4 separate regions of the Homo sapiens genome follow, and all the other regions are linked to region 2. The links are contacts of gene promoters, found by promoter capture Hi-C in blood cells and fetal thymus (Javierre and others, 2016). All regions are on one chromosome and are shown on one strand. The core of a region is centred on a gene start or on the middle of the fragment in contact, and the rest is flanking DNA. Distances in the headings are between cores, read along the strand shown.

Region 1 (2,700 bases), core at 122-2,621, 160 kb before region 2:
GGAAGCGAAAGTGGGAGGATCACTTGAGATCAGGATTTTGAGACCAGCCTGGGCAGCATAGGGAGACTCCGCCTGTGCAAAAAATTAAAAAAAAAAAATTAGCCAGGTGTGGTGGTTTATGCCTGTGGTCCCAGCTATAGGCTGAAGCTAGAGCCTGAGGTCAGAGGATCACTTGAGCCTGGGAGATCAAGGTTGTAGTGAGTTGTGATCATGCCACTGTACTCCAGCCTGGGTGACAGAGCGAGACCTTGTCTCAGAGAAAAAAGAAAAAAAAAAGTCCAAAAGATATGTGAAAAATATGCTCAATATCACTAATCATCAGGGAAATGGAAATCAAAACCACAATGAGATATCATCTCACCCCAGTTAGTATGGCTATTACCAAAAAAATAACAAATAACAAATGCTGCCAAGGATATAGAGAAAGGGAAACCCTTACACACTGTTGGTGGCAGTGTAAATTAGTACAGTCACCATATAAAACAGTATGGAGGTTCCTCAAAACATGAAAAATAGAACTACCATATGATCCAGAAATCCCACTATTCGGTACACATCCAAAGGAAATGAAATCAGCATGTTGAAGAGACATCTTCACTTCCATGTTTATTGCAGCACTATTCACAATAGCCAAGATATAGAATCAACCTCAGGGCCCATCAGCAAATGAATGTTTAAAGAAAATGTCGTATATTTACACAACAGCATACCATTCAGCCATAAAGAAAAAAAGAATGAAATTCTGTCATTTGTGGCAACATGGATGTGCCTCGAGGACATTATGCTAAGTGAAATAAGCCAGGCACAAAAAATAAATACCACATGTTCTCACTCATATATGGAATCTTAAAAAGCTGATCTCATAGAAGTAGAACGTAGGATAGTGGTTACCAGAATCTGGGAAGGGTAGACAGGGAGATGGGGAGAGATTGGTCAGTGGGTACAAATTTACAGTTGGGAGGGTAAGTTTATAAGTTCTAGTGTTCCATTGCACAGTAGGGTGATTTTAGTTAACAATAATATAGTGTATATTTCAAAATAGCTAGAAGAAAGGATTTTGAATGTTCACCACAAAGAAATGATATATGTTTGAGATGACAGATATACTAATTTTACCCCCTAATTTGATCATTATACATTGTATACATGTATCAAAACATCACACTGTATCCTATAAATATGTACAATTTTTTTGGATGGTTGGTTGGTTGGTGGGGTTTTTTGTTGTTGTTGTTTTTGAGACAGTGTCTCGCTCTGTCACCCAGGCTGGGTGATCCTCCTGCCTCAGCTTCCCAAGTAACTTGGACTATGGGTGTGCACCACGGTACCGAGCTATTTTTTTAAATTTTTTGTACACACGGTGTCTCACTATGTTTCCCAAGCTGGTCTCAAACTCCTGAGCTCAAGCAATCCTCCTGCCTCAGCCTCCCAAAGTGCTCGGATTACAGGCGTCAGCCACCATGCCTGGCCAATATGTACAACTGTTATGTATCAGTTACAAATAAAATAAAATTTTAAAAATGTTTTTAAATAAAATATAATTTAAATAAAGAAAAAAACAGCAGGGAAGAGGAATAGGAGATGCCAAGAGTAGTGGTATTCACAATTTGTCATTTTAATGAGAGGAATCAAGGTGTCATTAAGAAGCTGACTTCATTTTCTTCATTTTTATTTTATGTACAAACAGCTAATATGATTTTTCATTGTGTGGATGCCTTGGATAATCCATTCAAGGAAGATCACTTAGTCCAATTTAATGAAACCTATATCCTTCACGTACTGATGGCAACACTGGAGGCACATATTGAGGCTATATTTCCAGATCAGACCATGCTGGTTTGAGCAGATGCAACAAGAGCGAGAACTCTGGCCAGATTTTTGTGGGTGGCTCCAGCAGAGCTGCTTGTGATCCATTTTGCCTTCAGGAGTGCAACAAGGCAAAAGATAAGAAGGTGACTTCAAAGCAAATATTTAAAAGAGGTGTGGGAGAAAGGCATGCAGAATAACTGGGAGAAGAGTATCCCAAGAATGGAGAAGGGCAGAAGCAAAGTCCCTGAGGCAAGAGAATATACTTGGTATGTTCAAGGAATAACAAGAAGGCCAGTATCGTTGGAGAGAAATGAGTAAGGTGGTAACCAGCAGGAGATGAACTCAAAGAAGCCACAGGGTTCCAGAACACAGATCCCCCTTTTATGCCTTTTTTTTTTTTTTTTTTTGAGACAGAGTTTCATTCTTATTGCCCAGGCTGGAGTGCAGGGGCACAAACCTGGCTCACCGCAACCTCCACCTCCCAGTTTCAAGCAATTCTCCTGCCTCAGCCTCCCGAGTAGCTGGGATTACAGGCATGCACCACCACTCCTGGCTAATTTTGTTTGTTTTTTTTTTTTTTTTTTTTTTTTTTTTGAGACGGAGTCTCGCTCTGTCGCCCAGGCCGGACTGCGGACTGCAGTGGCGCAATCTCGGCTCACTGCAAGCTCCGCTTCCCGGGTTCACGCCATTATCCTGCCTCAGCCTCCCGAGTAGCTGGGACTACAGGCGCCCGCCACCGCGCCCGGCTAATTTTTTTTTGTATTTTTAGTAGAGACGGGGTTTCACCTTGTTAGCCAGGATGGTCTCGATCTCCTGACCTCATGATCCACCCGCCTCGGCCTCCCAAAGTGCTGGGATTACAGGCGTGAGCCACCGCGCCCAGCCAATTTT
Region 2 (2,741 bases), core at 18-2,517:
AAAGAGACAAGACTACCTAAGGGAAGGGTGGGACTAGGGTTCCCACGGTTGTTGGAATAGGCACACCTGAACACCAGGCTTTCAGGCAACAGAGGTGGCCCAGCCTTAACTTTCCCTTTCCAACATAAGTGGCCCCAACCTCCCCCATGCTGCTCAGTACTAAAACCGAATAGGAGCAATGAACTTATCATCTCACCAGGCCATTCTTCCAGACAAGTAGGCCTAAGATGGGGTCTTTCCTTGCTGATCTAAAAGGTCAAGTTGCCCCAAAGGCTTCTTCTTACTGCCAACAAAAAAAATCCTGAGTGCGGGGGATGAGGAAAGTTGTTCAGGAAAGATACAGGCATTTGCCATGACTACTGACCAGAAAGAACTTCTTGAACTACTTGGAACAGGCAGTGCCATGTGTGAATCCTCCATGAACCTCACATGTACAAACCTAGATTTCAACTTGCCCACTTCGGGCCACTCAGTCCTGAGCCAAAGCCTCCAGCCCAGTCCAGCCCGCAGCAAGGCCTTACCTGCTGCAGTGGACTCCTCAGAGTTGGCCCCCGAGCTGGTTCCTGTCGCCTTCTCACTGTGACTATGGCTGAGGCTCTGGCCCTGGTGCAGGAGGAGTCCCCAGAGGAGCCACAGGGCAAGACGGACGCATACATCCATGACTCTAGGTCTCAGTCAACATGCGTCTGATGTGGACACCTCGGGATCCCAGAGGCAAAGCCAGGAGCCCGGGAGTGCAGCCGACGGTCTCCAGGCAAGATGCCCTCGCGGCTCCGCAGCTGTCCAGCCACCCGCGAGCCTGCCCCCTCCAACAGCCAAAGGTCAAGTGCTCCAAGTTTGGGTGCGGGAGGAGGGCTGGCTCCTCAGGTCCAACAGTGGGTCCGCCGGGGCTGCGGCGGCCTGAGCTCGTGCCGCTTCCGGAGACTTCGGGCAGGGTGGCTGCGGGGCTGCTGTCAGCTCCGCAGATTACTACACCCCTGCGGAAGGGGGCGGCCGGAGTCTCCGCGGGCACAGAAGTGGAGGAGGAAGAGAAGAGAAGAGAAGAGAGGCGAGAAGGGGGCACCTGACCTCGCCCTGCCGAAGAGCGGCGAGCAGCAGAAGCTGGGGAGGGCGTGCGACCCGCAGGGTCCTGAGGGCGCGGGCGTCTCCGGGATCCTGGGCCTCCTAGGCCGAGGTCAGCGCCCCCGCCCAGTCCCGTGCCCAGGCGGCTGGCGGTGCCCAGGTCCAGCAGGCGGACGCACACCGGCCAGGCCCAGGACAGCGGCTTCCAGGCGGGCGGGCGGCGCGGGGCGGGCCCGGGGCGGGCGGGGGCGTGCGTCTCCGCGCCCGCCCCGCGCCGCCCGGTCCCCAGCGAAGCCCGGGCCAGCCCCAGCGCCCAGCTGGATCCCGGAATAACCGGTGAAGACGGCTCCCCGGAATCCCCGCCCCTAGCGGGCTCTCCCGGACCCCCGGCCCGCGCTAGTCTTTGCCAGGATCCCGCGCAAAGGATCAAGTCCCAGCTTCCCTTTCCCCACCGAGAGTCTCCAGCGCCAACCGCGGGCCGTCGGGCGGGTCCCTGACCCGCAGTTACTCAGGTAACTCAGGCCTGCGGCGGCGGCGACAGCAGCTGCCCTGCCCCGATCTCCGGGCCTTGGTGCTGCTCCACTCGCCTCAGTTCTAGAGCTGTCTAAACAGAGGCCCAGGACACGACGTTAGCCTCCCAGGAGCTGCCTGAGGCGACAACAGCCTGACCCGGCTCGGCCCGGGGGCGAGCTCCCAGCCCCCAACTCCCGGCCAGTTCCCAGGCTCCGCCCTCGCGCCTCGCCTGACAACCAATCGGCTTCCGCCTCTCTGCGGCTTGGGAACCCGCGCGCTTCGTCGCCCATGCGCAGCGGCCCCTGGTGGGAAAATCAGCAAACTGCAGACAGGACTCGGCGCTCCTGGGAGGGCCTGCTCTTTTGCAGAGGGTTGCCGAGTGAAGCTAAGACCCGCCCCGGGGGAGGCCCACGAGGGCCACTGGGGCCTGCGAGTGTTTTCTGAGGAAATGATGATGCCAGAAAGCAAAATGAAATGTCCAAACCACTCTAGCTAAAATTCCCCTACACATTCCTTGAGTCTGGGCTAAAGGGTGCCATCTGCTTTCCCGACCCCGCCTCCCTTCCCCTCCAAGCTAAGTGGGATGCCCTCCCTTAGCTCTCACAGCCCTTTTTCCTACCTGCCCTCAAGCTCTCAGCCCTTTAAGGTTTTTCGGTGGGGCCTGTAAATGCTTCCTCCCTGCATCTCATTCTCCCAGCTACCTCTCTGGTGGAGGAGGTGTCAGCGACTTGAGAATGAGTGCGCCAAAGAAGACAGAGCCACGCCTGAGCCTCCTTCAACAAAGCCTGCACTTCCTGTTCTCTTCTCAAGCGTGCTGTCAGCAGATCTTGACTGAAACCTCTGTGCCCTACCCTGTCCTTGGCACCAGACGCAGGGGAAAGGATCAGGCCCAGTCCCTCCTCTGACTGACAGTGCTAAACCAGCTACCTGTTCTGAGCAAGGCCCCTGAAGACTGGGAACACGAATTTGCCCAACAGCTGCCTGGCTTAAGGGTTAGGCCGTTGATATAAAAATACATGGCTAATGTAACCTACTACCACTCTCCCGGCTCTGTTAAGCTCCTGTCACACTAGCCTTCGTTAAGTTCCTAACCACGTCAAACTCAGCCACCTCACAGCCTTTGTATCTGCTGTTGCTTCTGCATGAAACACTCTCGCCTGCTCCCA
Region 3 (2,702 bases), core at 126-2,625, 140 kb after region 2:
TCTTTACCTCCATGGTTTTTTAAAAGTTAAATTAGCTTTCTGAAAGGGTTTTTAATCTCCATTTTTTTAAAGTTGTTTGCTTATACTTCGGGTAACCTTGATATTTGTATTTTAATAGTACATAATCTTTATGAAAAATAGTTTGGGAATGTAAATGAATTATTATTTGGCTTGGGGAGATTAGGGCCTACATTGTTTATCGCAATTACTTGTATCATTGATACGGGATTTCTTTGTAAAGCATCCTCTACCTCTCAGCTGCTGAAAGCTAGACCTTTGGTATTTTCCATGCTATAATTCTTATGGCTGCTGAAATGTGTGGTTTTTATGATTTATTAAATAATCTCTTAGGAGGCATTTCTGGAGAATGTGTGTATATACATGTTTGCGCGTACAGGGGAGGGGAGGGTATGATAAATGTGGGAAACTGGAAATATATTGACTTTTATGTTTATAATCTTGGTAGCATTTAGAATGCCCCTAAGAAATCTCCATTGACAAATGAAATGCTATAGACTTGGTTTTCCAGTTATCCATATTCATTTTGTCTGTCATATGCTTTGTATCATCTCCTTCTTTCCTAATTTTTTATAACCTTATATATATATTTATTATAAATATATGTATTTCTGAGGGAAAGAGTCAGATGGCCTTATTTTCTGTAACAAAAGTAATATGTAGGATCTTAAAGATAACCTCTTTCCAGTTGGCCCAGCTGAAAAAGAAAAGCTTCATTTATGGACAGACAGGAAAATGTTTGTAATGTTGACAGTAGTTTCTAGGTTCTTTAATTGCCAGAATAGAAATAGTAGAAAAATAACTATAAACTCCTATATTGACACTTGTGTTTGTGAGAGCTCTTTGAAAAATTGAGCACCCAAAAATTTCAGATCAAGGTTCTAGCAAAAAGAGGTAGTAAGGATTTAAAATGGGCAAGTAGCTTTTTTTTTCCTTGAGAAAGAGTTGTCGCCCAGGCTGTAGTGCACTGGTGCAGTCTCGGCTCTCTGTGGCCTCTGCCTCCCAGGTTCAAGCAGCCTCATTCCTCAGCCTCCCAAGCAGCTGGGACTACAGGGCATACCACCACACTCATCTAATTTTTTGTATTTTTAGTAGAGAGGGGATTTTGCCATGTTGGCCTCAACTCATGTTGTCTTGAACTCCTGGCCTCAAGTGATCCTCCCACCTTGGCCTCCCAAAGTGCTGGGACTACAGGCGTGAGTCACCATGGCTAGCCTAAAATGGGCAAGTAGCTTTGACTGAGGAAGTGGAAATGGTCTTTGACCTTTTGGTTGGGAAGAGCAGAAATGAGAGAAATGGATAGAGGTATTTAAATGTCCAGACTTTAGGTTTTGTTTACTTGCATTATTTTCTAAGGCCTTGAGCTTGGTATGTTGGAGCAGAAATGTAGGACTCTAGAGAATTCTTTCATATTTATTGCTCACTGACCCAAGTGAAGCTGATGGGAAATGCCAGTGGTTTGTTATTAGCACCAAAGACCCTACATTTTACTTTGCATGGGGAAACTACTTGTGCCGTTTGAGTATACTGGAAATAGCAGTCTTCTCATCTCTGTGTCAAGATGACTGCATACCATCACCTCACCCCTTAAAGAGGTTGATTGCAAAACTTCAGCTTCTTTTTTTCTTGGGGGAGAGAGGCCTGTTTCTTTAGGTATTTAGGAAGATGTGTATTTTTCTTTAATGGTCACATTTGTTCCATTACCTTTTATATAATATCGTCAGTCCCCTGTTTCCAGTTGGTTCTTAAGCCTCGCTTTTGCTCTTAAAAAAAGCAAGTAAATCTAAGCAACCAGAAAACATAAAGGTAACTAAATTTTCATGTGATCTTCTCTCCTGTACCTTTTAGGTTAGAGAAAATGTTGGTTGGCAGATAAACCTTAGTCACAGAGATGAATTAAGGTAGTTGCAGAGTATTTTGTTCTGTGGTTAGAACATTAGTTTCAAAATCCTGGTCTGGGATCCAATTTCCAGCTGGCTGCATCAATGCCCTGGTAAGCTTGACTTAGATTCCACAGATTTGGCATGGGGCTCAGGCATATTTATATTTTAATGCTTCTCCCCAGGTGGTTGAAATGTGCAATCAGGTTTCAAAACTATGTTGAAAGACCTCAGGCCTTTGGCACTCAGGTAGAGATACGTGTAGGTTTTTACCTCAGCCTTTTTTTTTTTTTTTGTAAACTTTTTTTTTTTAAATTATTATTGTACTTTAAGTTTTAGGGTACATGTGCACAGTGTGCAGGTTAGTTACATATGTATACATGTGCCATGCTGCTGTGCTGCACCCATTAACTCGTCATTTAGCATTAGGTATATCTCCTAAAGCTATACCCTCCCCCCTCCCCCCTCCCCCCACCCCACAACAGTCCCCAGAGTGTACCTCAGCCTTATAACTGAAGTGTAACTTGTGTTCAGTAACATCAAGGCAGGCTAATTGGCTTGCTCAGAAACTTAGCATTGTTCACTAAGTGAATTTAAGTTAATGACTTTTTTTTTTTTTCTGAGGCAAAGTTTTCCTATGTTCCTCAGGCTGGTTGAACTCTTGGGACCAAGCAATCCTTCCCACCTCAACCTCCCAAGTAACTGGGACTGCAGGTGCATGCCATCATGCCAGCTAATTTATTTATTTATTGTTTTAGAGACAGGATCTTGCTGTGTTGCCCAGGCTGGTCTCAGATTCTTGGC
Region 4 (2,700 bases), core at 36-2,535, 210 kb before region 2:
AATAGAAATAAATGAAAAGACAAGACTTCATTTCCTTTTACATGAATTCCTGCAAAGACTTCCCAACTAGAGTCCCTAGGCTTCCAGAATCATTTTCTAAAAGACAGTCTTGAATAGACCTCTCCTCTTCTCGAAAACAAAACAACCAAAAAAACCTGATTTGACTCTCTATTGCCTTCTGCATCCTACTAACTTCCCCACATGCATCTTAAGGTTCCAGGGATCTGACCCCACCCTATACACTCAACCTTAACACCTAGGACCTCGCTACCCATCTTTAAAGGCTACCTCCTCAGAGTCCCACATCCACTCATCCACCTCTTTGTCTTTCTAGACATTAGCATTCTTATCCTATAAGCTGAGTCTGGAACTAAGTCTGCATTAAGTGTGCTCTCACTGCTGCTTCTTGTGGGTGTGTAAGTTTTTTTTCTCAGGACCAGTGAATTTCTCATAACTGCCATCACAGAACTGGTTCCTAGACGTCAGGACTGACTGACTGACTGACGGGCACTCTCTTTTCACAGTTAAATCTTCTGCCATAGTTTTGAAGTCACATTTTATTTTAACAGAATCCCAGACCATCTGAGTTGGAAGTGTTCTCCTAGGAGAGTTTAGCATTCTCCAAGGTCAATCCCTTCATATTACCAATGAGGAAATAAATCCTGGGAGGGAAAGAAATTTATCCAAAGTTATATAGCAAGTTAGTGTTTATGAGATTTAGACTCCTTATAAGAAAGAACTAAGGACAGTAAGAAGGAAGGTTTTGAGGTTTCTTTGGGGAACAGTAAAGAACAGTTCATTACATCTATTTATATGCTAGGAGAAGCAGTCCAGAGACAGGCAGAAGGAAGAATGACCCCATAACAAGCAATGGGAAGCTCAAGACCTCTGGCAGCTACACATTTCTCCCTCTGAAGCTAAGAGGCAAAAAAGATAGAAACAAGTTTCTCCCCAGGAGGAATAACTGCCCAATAGCAATTGGAATATCAGCAACCTAAACTTGCAATGCAGTTTTGGAAGGATGATGCAGCCTGGGCTGCCATGCTGACAAGGTCTCAGGGGCCAAGTGGCTCACACCCAGGTGGAAATAGGAGGTTCCCAAGAACTGGCAGGGCCTCACCTTTCCTGAAGGGGCAGGCCTTACCTTTCCTGAAGGTCATGCAGACTCTGCTCAGCTCGGTGTAACCCCTCCAAGTCCTTCATCATCTTCTTCATGTGCTCCTTGGAGTAACGGTTCTGGATATAGGCAAACCAGCAGCCGCCCACACCAATAACGATAGACACCACCAGCATGAAGTCCTTGAGGTGATTATGGCGAGTCACTGCCAGAGAGGGGAGGGCATGATGAGTTAGGGTGCCCACTGCACACTTAGCCTTGCAGACTCCACTGCATCCCTCCTCTATGAAGCCTTCCATAACAGACACACTCTCCCACTGAGAAGGAATTAGTTTCTCTTCTTAGATACACACTTGCCATACACTATTACAGTAAGCTCTATGTCTATCTCTCTGCTAGCCAAGGCTTTGTTTTGAAATGAGAGGCCTTACAGCAATACAGGATGCTTATTAAATCACACTTTCTTAAGATGCAGTGAAGAGGAGAGAACTAGTGCCTTCTCAATATGCCCCAGCCATCTCTGGGCTGGATGAGCCCATATGCCAAGATGTAGTGGCTTCTGTCATACAGGGTAAGCAATTCTAAAGTTCCACAGTAGGTAAATGGAGATGACTGGTATAAAGGATATAAAGCAATGTCACCAGAAGCCTCAGTTCTGGCTGTAGGACTGAAGTCACTGTAGGAACTAGGTATCCTGGACTACCAGGCCATTCTTGGCACAGATCAGGGAAAGGTCCAGAAGTCTCAATCTATGGAGAACATTTCTAGGCTACTGTGAAATCCAGAGACTCTAGAACAGGATAGCATGAATACATTCATATGGATGAGACATTATACCTACCAGAAATTGAGGGGCAGAGCTATTTTCAGAGAACACCTGGTAGCAATTCAGTGAACCACGAGGGCCCCAGCCACCAGCTGGGGTTCAAAGAATGCCCATTGTCCAGAGCAAAATTTAAATGTTAAACAAGAAATGACACCACAAGATAAAAAGCAAAAGCCACATCCTAAAAACTTAGCCAATCAGGAGAGAGGCATTTCTGGAACTAACATTGTTCCTGGTATACCAGATCTGGGCTCTGTGCCACAGCACAAAAGACTTGAAAGGGGCACTATAAGAAGGAGACAGCTACTCCTGCATCCTCTGTCTAGGTTTTGCTGTGGGCTCAGAGGAGCCCTGGATGTGGGAGTCAGAGAAAGAGGGAAAAAAGGGAGTTATGCCAGGGCTAATGACCCTCTGTGCACAGCAAGTTGCCCTTAAACAGCAGAGAAGGAGGTAGGACTGGCATGATCCTTGGACATAGTAAGGACATGGGGCTGGTGGAAATCCAAAAGGACCCAGGTAGAGCCACCAAGTTAAGGGAAGGTCAAGACACCAGAAAAAGAAACCATATGATACTGATGCCTATAGTTTGACAAGAAGAGTTACCATCATAGCTCCTCACAGAAAGGCTGAGCAGCAGAACATGGGGATGAGATGGGATCAAAGACAGATTAACACATCCTATTTCCACCCAAGGGAGGGGGGTCACTAGGTCAGGGTGGTGGCCATGTCCTTCATATGTTTATTCCAGGCTCTCTGA

Evidence for each region. Contacts are between HindIII fragments. The CHiCAGO score rates a contact against its expected background, and 5 or more counts as called.
Region 1: a fragment that was not itself captured here is called in contact with the fragment with the promoter of STIM1 in region 2 in 11 of 17 cell types (activated CD4 T cells, total CD4 T cells, naive B cells and 8 more); the score reaches 10.1 in activated CD4 T cells.
Region 3: a contact is called between a fragment that was not itself captured here and the fragment with the promoter of STIM1 in region 2, in 1 of 17 cell types (naive CD8 T cells). The highest score is 5.3, in naive CD8 T cells.
Region 4: a fragment that was not itself captured here is called in contact with the fragment with the promoter of STIM1 in region 2 in 17 of 17 cell types (total CD4 T cells, M0 macrophages, total B cells and 14 more); the score reaches 86.5 in total CD4 T cells.

What each region holds. Positions count from the first base shown.
Region 1 is chr11:4,018,162-4,020,861 of GRCh38, reverse strand. The region is part of intron 2 of STIM1 (stromal interaction molecule 1); the gene reads right to left. It also overlaps the pseudogene RPS29P20. Among named protein-coding and RNA genes, the nearest start is that of RRM1, 75 kb to the left of the region's middle. The HindIII fragment of the contact is 6,145 bases long and covers 1-2,700 here.
Region 2 is chr11:3,854,190-3,856,930 of GRCh38, reverse strand. STIM1 (stromal interaction molecule 1) reads right to left here and starts at 1,267. Exons shown (of 13, transcript NM_001382567.1): 1 at 522-1,267. The coding sequence starts at 660. It overlaps STIM1-AS1 (STIM1 antisense RNA 1), which reads left to right and starts at 1,353. Exons shown (of 2, transcript NR_183662.1): 1 at 1,353-1,574; 2 at 2,273-2,608. MIR4687 (microRNA 4687) reads right to left here and starts at 869; the gene lies at 790-869. RefSeq lists enhancers at 352-401, 412-491, 642-851, 1,067-2,012, 2,222-2,291 and silencers at 1,072-1,231, 1,292-1,351, 1,832-1,881. The HindIII fragment of the contact is 6,805 bases long and covers 1-2,741 here.
Region 3 is chr11:3,709,490-3,712,191 of GRCh38, reverse strand. All of the region lies in intron 20 of NUP98 (nucleoporin 98 and 96 precursor), which reads left to right. Among named protein-coding and RNA genes, the nearest start is that of CHRNA10, 39 kb to the right of the region's middle. The HindIII fragment of the contact is 1,287 bases long and covers 732-2,018 here.
Region 4 is chr11:4,068,648-4,071,347 of GRCh38, reverse strand. STIM1 (stromal interaction molecule 1) reads right to left here. Exons shown (of 13, transcript NM_001382567.1): 6 at 1,145-1,322. Among named protein-coding and RNA genes, the nearest start is that of RRM1, 25 kb to the left of the region's middle. The HindIII fragment of the contact is 4,183 bases long and covers 1-2,700 here.